Regions from separate parts of the Homo sapiens genome. Here region 2 is linked to region 1. Evidence: promoter capture Hi-C in 16 types of primary human blood cells and fetal thymus (Javierre and others, 2016). All regions are on one chromosome and are shown on one strand. The core of a region is centred on a gene start or on the middle of the fragment in contact, and the rest is flanking DNA. Distances in the headings are between cores, read along the strand shown. Region 1 holds the start of ZNF445 (zinc finger protein 445). Region 2 overlaps TCAIM (T cell activation inhibitor, mitochondrial).

The links. The method cuts DNA at HindIII sites, captures the fragments that hold promoters and counts their contacts. A CHiCAGO score of 5 or more calls a contact.
Region 2: a fragment that was not itself captured here is called in contact with the fragment with the promoter of ZNF445 in region 1 in 8 of 17 cell types (monocytes, erythroblasts, total B cells and 5 more); the score reaches 8.7 in monocytes.

Annotation. Positions count from the first base shown.
Region 1 is chr3:44,473,307-44,479,046 of GRCh38, forward strand. It overlaps ZNF445 (zinc finger protein 445), which reads right to left and starts at 4,364. Exons shown (of 8, transcript NM_181489.6): 1 at 4,285-4,364. It overlaps LOC101928529 (a long non-coding RNA gene), which reads left to right and starts at 4,384. Exons shown (of 4, transcript XR_940785.4): 1 at 4,384-4,903; 2 at 5,276-5,363. RefSeq lists silencers at 4,112-4,161, 4,182-4,341. The HindIII fragment of the contact is 9,006 bases long and covers 1-5,740 here.
Region 2 is chr3:44,340,870-44,346,658 of GRCh38, forward strand. All of the region lies in intron 1 of TCAIM (T cell activation inhibitor, mitochondrial), which reads left to right. Among named protein-coding and RNA genes, the nearest start is that of TCAIM, 5.0 kb to the left of the region's middle. The HindIII fragment of the contact is 1,143 bases long and covers 2,700-3,842 here.

The sequences.
Region 1 (5,740 bases), core at 3,114-5,613:
TAGCCGGCATGGTGCTGCATGCCTGTAATCCCAGCTACTCGGGAGGCTGAGGCAGGAGAATCGCTTGAACCCAGGAGGCGGAGGTTGCAGTGAGCCGAGATCATGCCACTGCACTCCAGCCTGGGCAACGAGAGTGAAACTCCACTTCACACACACACACACACACACACACACACACACACACAAAAAATGCTTTCAGTATATATTTAAAGCCTTAAAATAATATTTATATTCATTTACCAATTAAGAAATAAACTAATAATGGGAGTGCCCAAAATTTGATTTCTAAATACTATACTATTCTCCAATTAAAACAAACAACAACAACAACAAACAGGGATCCTTGGAGAAGTGACTGATGCCAGGCTGGGGAGGGAAAAATATAAGGGTTTTGGGTGCCAGAAAACAAAAACTAAGGAAGGACTAAAAAAAAAAAAAAAAATCGGGGCAAACAGACACAGCTCCCAATAGTCAAAGAGCTACAATAATTTCAGCAATAAAATAACAACAGTACTGCATTCTAGTGCAAAGAATAAAATAAGTATCCAAAGCACACAATAATATAACTGATTGAATAAATAAATAACAGGGGAGAAGGGATAACTCTTCCTCACAAAGATTCCAATTAATACTTTGAATGAATGAGAATTGTATGTAAGTATCCAATGAATGCCTAGAAGGAATGAAGGAAAGAGAAAGTCAAATCCCAACACCACAGTAGTCATTGCTGCAGGCAAGATCAATCAATGAATGCTACTTAGACCAAAGTTCAAAGAGAAACAGCATCTCATATGCAAAGTAGTAAACTATCTTCCCCCAAATAATTACTGATGACTAGGAGAAAGACAGTAAGGTTCCAGTGGTAAAACTTGACAGAAAACTTGAGATGCAACCAAATTGAGGGACTTTATAAAAATACAAATATAAGGCCGGCACGGTGGCTCATGCCTGTAATCCTCGCACTCTGGGAGGCTGAGGTGGGCAGATCACCTGAGGTCGGGAGTTTGAGACTAGCCTGACCAACATGGTGAAACCCTGCCTCTACTAAAAATACAAAATTAGCCAGGCCTGGTGGCACATGCCTGTAATCCCAGCTACTCGAGAGGCTGAGGCAGGAGAATCACTTGAACCTGGGAGGCGGAGGTTGCGGTGAGCCGAGATCACGCCATTGCACTCCAGCCAGTGCAACAAGAGCAAAATTCCGTCTCAAACAAACAAAAAACAGAACAAACAAAAAAACAAATATAAAACACTTCTTCAGAAGTGTTTTGAAAGACTAAGTAACTGTCACAGATTGAAGCAGACCAAGTAGACATGACAACTAAACGTAATGAGGAATTCTAGATTGGAGCCTACAACAGAAAAAGAATGCTTAAATAAACTTTTAAAAGTCTGCAGTTTAATTAATAGTACTGTACCAACGTAAATTTTTTAATTTTGATGAACGTACTATGGTAATCCAAGATAGCAACTTGAGACAAACTAGGTAAAAGGTGTAAGAGAACTCTGAAAGTCTACAATTATTCCAAATAAAAAGTTTGCTGGCCAGGCGCGGTGGCTCACACCTGTAATCCTAGTACTTTGGACGGCCGAGGCAGGTGGATCACCTGAGGTCAGGAGTTTGAGACTAAAAATATGAAAATTAGCTGGGCGTGGTGGCGCATGCCTGTAATCCCAGCTACTCAGGAGGCTAAGGAGGGATAATTGTTCAAAGGGGATGGGGCGGGGCAGAGGTTGCAGTGAGCTGAGATCATGCCACTTCACTCCAGCCTGGGTGAAAGAGCGTTAACTCTGTCTCAAAAAAAAGGTTTGTCTTATCTTACATTGAGAAGTTCCAGTCATTCAGTCATCATCATTTTTATCTGATTTATTTCCATTTTAGGTATTACAGGTTTTGTTTTGTTTTTTTGAGACGGAGTTTCACTCTTGTTGCCCAGGCTGGAGTACGATGGCGTGACCTCCACTCACTGCAACCTCCGCCTCCTGGGTTCAAGCAATTCTCCTGCCTCAGCCTCCCAAGTAGCTGGGATTACAGGTGCCCGCCACCATGCCCAGCTAATTTTTTGTATTTTTAGTAGAGATGGGGTTTCACCATGCTGGCCAGGCTGGTCTTGAACTCCTGACCTCAGGTGACCCACCCACCTCAGCCTCCCAAAGTGCTGGGATTACAGGCATGAGCCACCATGCTCAGCCAGGTATTAAAGATTAACTTGGTAAGTGGCTCTTAAAAATCGAGGACATTTAATACTGTCAATTTTTATCTACCAATTTGGATTCCTTCTTTCATTAATTTGTCATATATTTATTGAGAACCTACTGTATGTTCCAGTACTGCCTTGAGGCGTCTATGAGGAGACAGATTCGTGGTATGCTAAACAGTGACAGCTGCTACATAGTAATATAAAACAAGAGGCGGGCACGGTGGCTCACGCCTGTAATCCCAGCATTTTGGGAGGCTGAGGCAGGCAGATCACCTGAGGTCGGGAGTTCGAGACCAGCCTGACCAATACGGTGAAACCCCGTCTTTACTTAAAATACAAAAATTAGCTGGGCGTGGTGGCACACACCTGTAATCCCAGCTACTTGGGAGGCTGAGGCAGGAGAATCACTTGAACCCAGGAGGCGGAGGCTGCAGTGAGCCGAGTTTGCACCACTGCACTCCAGCCTGGGCAACAAGAGTGAAACTCCGTCTCAAAAATAAAATAAATAAAATAAACAAGGAAAAAGAAAATAAATTTAAGAATAGGAAGGAAAAAAAGAAATTCATAAATTCAATCTTACAGAACACCTAACAATTCGCCTGAGAGTCACAGAAATGTACTCTTTCACATTGTTTCTAATACAAAATCTTGAAAATTGCAAAATACAGTGTTATGTTTTACTATAGTTTACTCTCTGACATCGTAGACTGCTTATGCACTAATTCTTCCTGGATACCGGAAGCCAGAGAAAACCTAGCGGTGGAATACTTGCCATTTTTCATGCTTTTTGTCAGTTTCCTTTTTAAGTGCATACTGAGGTTTATCTTCAAAACATTCTCATCTTTTCGGCTTACAGTAAGACTTTTTTTTTTTTCTAACCAAAATGTGTCTGCCTTTCATTAAGATAACATAAAAGAGCAGCCTAATTCTTTGGTCCCTGAATATGCACACACATGCATGCACACACACACACGCAGACACACACACAACACATGGAGGCTCTCTGAAACTGCTTAATCAAATTACTGCTCAAACCACTCCCTGGCACTTCCTTGCAAAACAACCAACCTAATACTGAGTTTTTAGTTTTGCACTACAAGCCGTTTGAAACAGAATAACATTCTTTCCTGGCCACCACTTTTAAATTCGGAAGGAGACAATACTCTGATCTCTTAGGCCTGTGCAAGTCAGAGTGTGCTACAATCGCTGCAGGTTAGAGCTCTGCCTTTGTTTAAAAACTGCATTTTATATACTAGTTACTTCATTGTGAAAGATAACCACCCTGACAAACAAGATTTTGCTATTTTTCTGCACAAATGTCACTTCACCATTTAGAGCTTCATGCAAATGTGTCTCCTACAGAAAATAAACTGCAAACACGATTTCTTAATTATCCTCGCCAAAAAAAAAATGTTTTAGTGGTGTCATAATGCCAGCACTAATTTTAGCCAAAATAAGAACAAATGCATTCTACAAATTCAGGAGATTATAATTTTTAAAAAGCAGTAGTATGGATATACTTAATGTCACTGAATTACACACTTCCAAATGGTTAAATGGTAAACGTTTATGTATTGTATGGTAAATGTTATGTGTTATTTTGGCACAATATTGTTTCCTCACAATAATACTAACAGGTTTTTTAAAAAGCAAGAGCACGCTCTCATTTCGTAATATATATTTATGGATGTCAGTGTGCAGAATTATGCACAGATATTTTAAATGTCAGGAGGCCTGGAGACAGATTTCAGGATTGCGGCTACTTTTACTTTTCTTCTACTTTCCCGTGTTATCTAATTGTCTCTGATAAATACGCTTTATATGCAGAATTGGATGAAACGAGAAAGCCCGGAGAAACCCGGGCTCCAGATTCTCTACCCCGGACGCCTGGGAGGCAAAGAGGTTCTAGATACGCCCTCAGCGTGGCGGGGGCGGGATCCACCGCCAGACCCCCGCCACGGGCGCAGCCTCCAGGCCGGGCCCCGTCCGCCGCCCGGGCAGGCCCGAGAATGCCGCGGACTTCGGGGAGCCCCGCGCCCGCAATGCCGCCACCCCCACCCCCGCGCCCCGCCAGGCCTCTCACCGACTCCCGCCGCCGAGCGACAATCGGTCCACCCGCCGCCACCGCAGCCGCCCGTCCCGCGCCTACCTCCCGGCGGCTCCAGTCGCGCACGCGCGTCGGCGCCCGGGGCCCTCCGCGGCCTCTCTAGGAAACTGGGAGGCCCAACGTCTCTGCTTCTCTCCGGCTCCGGTGCGGCGGGCGGCGGGGCTTGTCCAACATCCCTCACCTCCCTCAGTTGGACATTTCCCTTCCACGCTCGGATGCCCAGCCGCGCCTGTTTTCTTGCATCCCTCCTGTCGTGTCTGCGGGGCTGCCCTGAAGGCCTCTTTCCCTCCAGGGAAGAAAGGGATCCAAAGCTAGGGGTGAAAATAGGGCCAGCAGTATCTAGCAGACTGGTCCTGGCCAGGAGAAGGGGTTAAGGGAGCCACTCATTCTTCGCCTGGGTACACTTCAAAGAGGGGAACCAGATCCTACGGGAAGCTAGGTGCCAGAACTCCTGCCTTTCCAAGACGAGCTCATCCCCATCATCACCATACCCAGGAATACTTGTTCATAGCCAGCTCAGAGGTGCACCATACTTTAGCTTCCCACGGCCTTCACTCGTTTTCTCCTGTGGGTGAATTCTAACTAGGCTCGCCTGGTGAGTGAACAATGATGCCATTGCCCAATAATATGTGGAATCTGGGAGGAGTAGGTTGGGGGTAGGGGGTGGAGGGGCTGCTTGAAGAGGAGGTGAAGCAACCTGGAGAGGTTGCCCACCCCCTGTAGGAGCAAATGTCATCTATTGCCAGTGCCAGAGAACCTTGAGGGTGCACAGCCAAAGCCATAAGGCCATCTGCTGCCATTGGAGGGCATGCTACAAGCTGCTGTCCTGGTAGTCCTCTGGTTTGTGCTTCCTAGTGGCAGGCTGCAACATGTTGACGATTGATCTTTCAGATGGGCATTGATGATGCCCATCTGTGCCCTGAGGCTTTGCTTTACTCATCTGATCCACCCCTTTTTAATGCCCCAGTCACCAAAGATGGAAACAGAGAATAGATCCTGAACACCAGGAAGATGGTGACAAGGTGATAGAGAAACAGATGGCACATTCAAACAAGGTAAGTGGGGAGAGTTCACAAGGGGCGATTTACACAAAGTGGACAGGGTTAAGGAAATGCAACACGGAGTGGTGCAGAATCCCATGGCTAGCAAAATTTAGAAGCTATTCTCACCCCTAGGAGCAGGCCATCTGAGAGAAACTGTGGCTTTCAGTTGAGGGCTACATCCAAGCCATAGTCCAGCACAAAGGAAGCTGAGGTAATAAATAACCTGAACCCAGCTCTCTTCTGATCTCCTGCCAGGGCTTCCCATTGGCCCAACTCAACTGGAAGCCAGAGGGCAATCCAGGAAACTCAGTCTCCCAAGTGTCACAGCAGGGTTGAGGACTGAGACTGAATATGGAGGGGCAATTGGAAAATATCCAACACATACAAAA
Region 2 (5,789 bases), core at 2,021-4,520, 130 kb before region 1:
TCCCTTTCTTCTTTTCCAAAACTGGATCCTCATCTGTCACTTAGTCGTCAGAGCCCATTCTTGAAGAGCTTACAGGAAATACTCAAAAGACTCATAGTACTCGGTTTTTCATTCTTATTCTTAAACAGAACGAGAAAATATATTTTTAATTTTTTCCAATGATTTGTATAGGAAGTGATCATCTTAGAGCAATAATTTTGTTGAATGGATAGCAGAATTATTAACTGAATATATTTTTATATATATAGGCATTTTCCTCTAGAAATATGAATTGGCTGCCATTGTGGGAGAGAGGAGAATTATTGGAAAAAGGAAAAGTCACATTCCCTCTCATTTCTCCCCTATTGCTCTCTCATTGTTTCTCCATGACCCAGAACACTGTCTTTAAAAAGTCAGTATTAATTCATAAAAAGACAATTCCCACAGCACAATATAACTTTATTATATTCACTTTAGGTTTTTATTTTGAAGAGAGAAATGCTACTTCCATCAAAACTTGTGTTTTTATTGGTTAGCAAGTGCCACCTTTGTCTTCAAATGGTAAAAGTAAACAACTAGCTATTTTTTAATTCTGATGAATTAAAAGTATTTTTCTAGAGAAAAATTTGTGAAATTATTCATCTGTACTTTTTGAATTGTATGTAGCCTTGGCAAAATTGCCTACTACCTTGTGTTTAAGACCTTCAGACATTGACTCCTTATTGTGATAATTCTGAGTTTTTCAACAAAGTTTTTCAAAATTTGTTTTTGAATAAAATGTTGTATTGAACTGCATGTTTGAGCAATATGTTATCTGACATTAGATGGAAAAAAATTATGCCATTTTTTAATACACTCTGACATAATAATAGTTGCAACTGTAATGAATTTTTTATTTACTAAATGTGGCTAAATCCCTTATGCATATTCTACTTAAGCTTCACAAAAGTTCTATGAAAAAGATAGCCCCTACTTTCATAAGTGATGTACCCCTGAAAACACATACACAAAGTCAGATGTGGGATTCCACATCCACAGTGCTTAAACATCATTATTAGGTTCTAAATTAGATTTCACCTTTTAGAAAAGTCTTATTGAATATTTCTAGCATTTTGTCTGTGTCTTTCCACCATTTTATCTTAAATGTGCTGTCCAGATAACTTCAGTGAGCATCAGATACAGACCAAATATCAATATAGATAACGTTTTCTCATTTGTATTTCATTTCGTATTCTTTATTACTAGTATTAGAATTGTAATTTTTCTTTTTTATAAAATAAAGACAAAATTCAATAAAATATTCACTAATTTCATTTACTAAATTGTACTCCTGTCTAGCAGATTAGCATTGTGTTAGCTCAAAGTATTCTCTCAGTTAATGAAAACTTAAGATTCAGAATTAAAAGGCAGTTTGGAGTGGGGACAGAATGTTTATATATATCCACATGTTTCTGCTGTAATGCCATTCTTGCATTCCTGGAAATCCTGACATGCTGCCAAACAATAAGCAAAAGTAACAGTTTGTGGAGAAAAAGCACACACCACTCAAAACTGAACAAAATTTTATAAGAGCCCTAACAAAAACCCTAACCCTAATAAACATGGTAGTAAAATTAAATCTAGTTTAGACCAGTTTCATCAAGATTAACATTCTAATCTAGGAGTAGCTTTATTTATCAATCAAATTTTTTTTTAAAAGACTTGGAAATCTCTAGCTTTTTCGTTTATCCTAGCACATTGCCAGATGGTTTGATGAAGTGGAAAATGTAGCCAGACTTGAACCCACTAAACATCTGCTTCTTAAACCAAAAGAAAGAAATACCAGGAGATTTTTTTTCCTTAAGGTCTTTACATATCACTAAAGCCTTTTTTTTTTTTTTAAATTGTAGAAAGCCTACCTCTGATCACTTCAAATCAGTAATATGTTGGGGGTAAAGTGCATATATAAGTCTTTCCCCTATTGACCAATTGCATATAAGCTGATTCACATTAAATAAACATTTTAAGGCTGGACACAGTGGCTCAGGCTTGTAATCTCAGCACTTTGGGAGGCCGAGGAAGGAGGATCAGCTGAGGTCAGGAGTTCGAGACCAGCCTGGCCAACATGGAGAAACTCCATCTCTACTAAAAATACAAAAATTCGCTGGGTGCGGTGGCAGGCGACTGTAATCCCAGCTACTCGGGAAGCTGAGGCACGAGAATCGCTTGAACCTGGGAGGCAGAGGTCGCAGTGAGCCGAGATCATGCCACTGCACTATAGCGCAGGTGACAGAGCGAGACTCTGTCTCAAAAAAAAAAAAGAAGAAATGTTTTGGTGTTACAACAGACTTTTCTTAACCATCTATGTTATTTAAGAGATGAGGAAACAGACTCCAGAAGGTAACGTAACTTGCCCTTGCTCACACAGTCACTGAAGATGTCAAGATTTGAATACAAATCTCAAGCCCCCTAGCCTCCATTTCCTAACCATTATGCAAACTACCTACTTTGACAGTCACATTCACTGGAAGTGTTTAGATCAGCACAATCCAATAAAAATAGAATGTAAGCCTTGGATATAATTTAAAATTTTCTAAAAACTAGATGTTTTACTTTTTAAAAAGTAAAAGTGAAATTAATTTTAATAAATTATAATTTCAACACATAACCAATATGAAAAATTATTACTGAGATACTTTCCATTGTTTGTACTGAATCTTTTAAATCCAGTGGGTATGTTAAGCTTAACACATCTCTATTTAGACTAACCACATTTCAAGTGCACAGTAGCTACATGTGGCTAGTGGCTGCCTACTGTTTTAGACAGCAGAGGCCTAGATTGTAATTCTATTACTCTACTGAAATGTAAACCTTTTTAGGAAATAGCTTGCTCACAAAATAAGCAGATAGAAAACACCTAATTCTCAACCTGTCATTTTTTTAGTGCTCTCTTTCTAAATCTGGAAACCATGATTTAATGTTTAGATTTGTATTTGGTAACATTTTATTTTTGTTGAGAAAATCTATTGTCACATTTCTAAGCACTAATGTCCTTTATTAGTCATTTCTCAGTAGTAGTTTAGTTATACTCTGTGATTACAAAGCGATTAGTGGATGAATGTATTTTTCTGGATAACTAAAGACCTTGAACTTTACACAAATTTTATTTTGCTTTGATTATTTTTGATGGAAATGCTTTTTTTTTTTTTTTTTTGAGAGAGTCTCACTCCATCACCCCGGTTGGAGTGCAGTGGTGCAATCTCAGCTCACTGCAAACTCCACCTCCCAGGCTCAAGGCCTCAGCCTCCCAAGTAGCTGGAATTACAGGCGTGTGTCACCACACTCAGCTAATTTTTGTATTTTTAGCAGAGATGGGGTTTTGCCATGTTGGCCAGGCTGGTCTTGAACTCCTGCCCATTTTCACCTCCCAAAGTGCTATGATTACAGGGATGAGCCACCATACCGAGCCTCAGAAATGCTTCTGAAATGCTTCTGAAATGTGCTACATAATTCCATCTTACACACAACATACTTTATCCTCCATGATTAAAAGTCATTAAGGATACTATCTTAGTCTTCAGCTGCTGTGTCAAACTATCATAAACCAGATAGCTTAAAAACAACAGAAATATATTTCTTGCGGTTCTGGAGTCTGGGAAATTCAACATCAAGATGTCTGCAGATTTGTTGTCTTGCTATAACTTCACATGGTAGGGGGCAAGATAGCCCTCTGGGGCTTTTTTCTTTTTCCTTTTTTGTAATTTTCCTTTTTTCTGATAGTTTTGATCAGAGGACAGGACTTTTTATAAGGGCACTAATGACCTTATTACTGTCACACGCGTCCGTGTGAAGAGACCACCAAACAGGCTTGGAGAGAGCAATGAAGCTTTTTATTCACCTGGGTGCAGGCGGGCTGAGTCCAAAAAGAGAGCAGAGGGAGTTAGGGGTGGGGTAGTTTTATAGGATTTGGGTAGGTAGTGGGGAAGATTACAGTCAAAGGGGATTGTTCTCTTGCGGGCAGGGGCGGGGGTCACAAGGTGCTCAGTCGGGGAGCTTCTGAGCCAGGAGAAGGAATTCAATTCACAAGGTATTGTCATCAGTTAAAGCAGGAACCGGCCATTTTCACTTCTTTTGTGATTCTTCAGTTACTTCAGGCCATCTGGATGTATACGTTCAGGCTTGGGCTCAGAGGCCTGACATTCCTGTCTTCTTACATTAATAAGAAAAATAAAATAGTGGTAAAGTGTTGGGGCCCTGAAAATTTTTGGGGGTGGTATGGAAAGATAATGGGCGACGTTTCTCAGGGCTGCTTCGAGCAGGATTGGGGCGGCGTGGGAACCTAGAGTGGGAGAGATTAAGCTGAAGGAAGATTCTGTGGTAAGAGGTGATATTGTGGGGTTGTTAGAAGGAGCATTTGTTGTATAGAATGATTGGTGATGGCCTGGATACGGTTTTGTATGAATTGAGAAACTAAACAGAAGACGCAAGGTCCAAATAAGAGAAGGAGAAAAACAGGTATTAAAGGACTTAAGAATTGGGAGGACCCAGGACATCCAACTAGAGAGTGCCCAAGGGGGTTCAGCATAATTACTTGCTTGGTTGGCAAGTTTTTGGGCTCTATCTTTGAGTTTTTTTATGTTGTCATATACCAGGCCAGATTGATTTAGGTAAAAACAACACTCTTCGTTTAATATACAGAGTCCCCTTTTTTTTTAGCAGTGACTAACGAGTCCTCCACGATTTTGGAGGAAAGAGAAATACAAAGCCAGCAATTGTTTGTTAAAGAAGGATTAGAAACGGCTAGGAGAGAGTGAGTGAGATTGATAGTGTGGTGGAGATAGCTGGGGAGAGGTAGAGGGTGGCATAAGAACGGGAACAAGAATAAGAGTGAGTATGAAAGTAAAGAATAGGACTTCATCAAGGTGAAAGTATTGGAGTGTACCCTGCCAGCAAGATCATCTATCCACTTTAAGAGAGACTTAAGGGTGGTGGTTTGAGGTAAAACCAGAAGGTATCAGTTATGATGGTTTGAAGGAAAAGTGTAAACCGGCAGTGGAAACAAGGGCAGGGCATTTATGAGTAGTTGAGAATGGTGAATAGGAGTATGACTAGACAGAAGATAGTAGGGATGACAAGTTTTTGGGGTACAGTCCAAGTTAGGCTGGTGTCTGGAATGAGACTGGGGCCTAATAAAAAGGAGCATCCATAGGAGCTCAAATGGGCTGTACCCTGTAGCGTCCCGAGGACAGGCCCGAATTCTGAGAAGGGCAAGTGGTAAAAGTATTGTCCAGTCCTTTTTAAGTTGGAGGCTGAGCTTGGCGAGGTGTGTTTTTAAAAGATCATTAGTCCGTTTTACCTTTTCCGAAGATTGAGGACGGTAAGGGGAAGGTTCTACTGAATACCAAGAACCTGAGAAACTGCTTGGGTGATTTGACTAGTAAAGGCTGGTCCATTATCGGACTGTATAGAGGTGGGAAGGCCAAACCAAGGAATTGTGTCTGACAGAAGGGAAGAAATGACCACGGTGGACTTCTCAGACCCTGTGGGAAAGGCGTCTACCCATCCAGTGAAAGTGTCTACCCAGACCAAGAGGTATTTTAGTTTCCTGACTCGGGGCATGTGAGTAAGTCAGTTTGCCAGTCCTGGGCAGGGGCAAATCCCCGAGCTTGATGTGTAGGGAAGGGAGAGGGCCTGAACAATCCCTGAGGAGTAGTAGAATAGCAGATGGAACACTGAGAAATGATTTCCTTGAGGGTAGAATGTCCATGGTGGAAAGGAAATGAGAGATTCTAAGAGGCACGCTAGCGGCTTGTAATCTACATGGAAGTTAT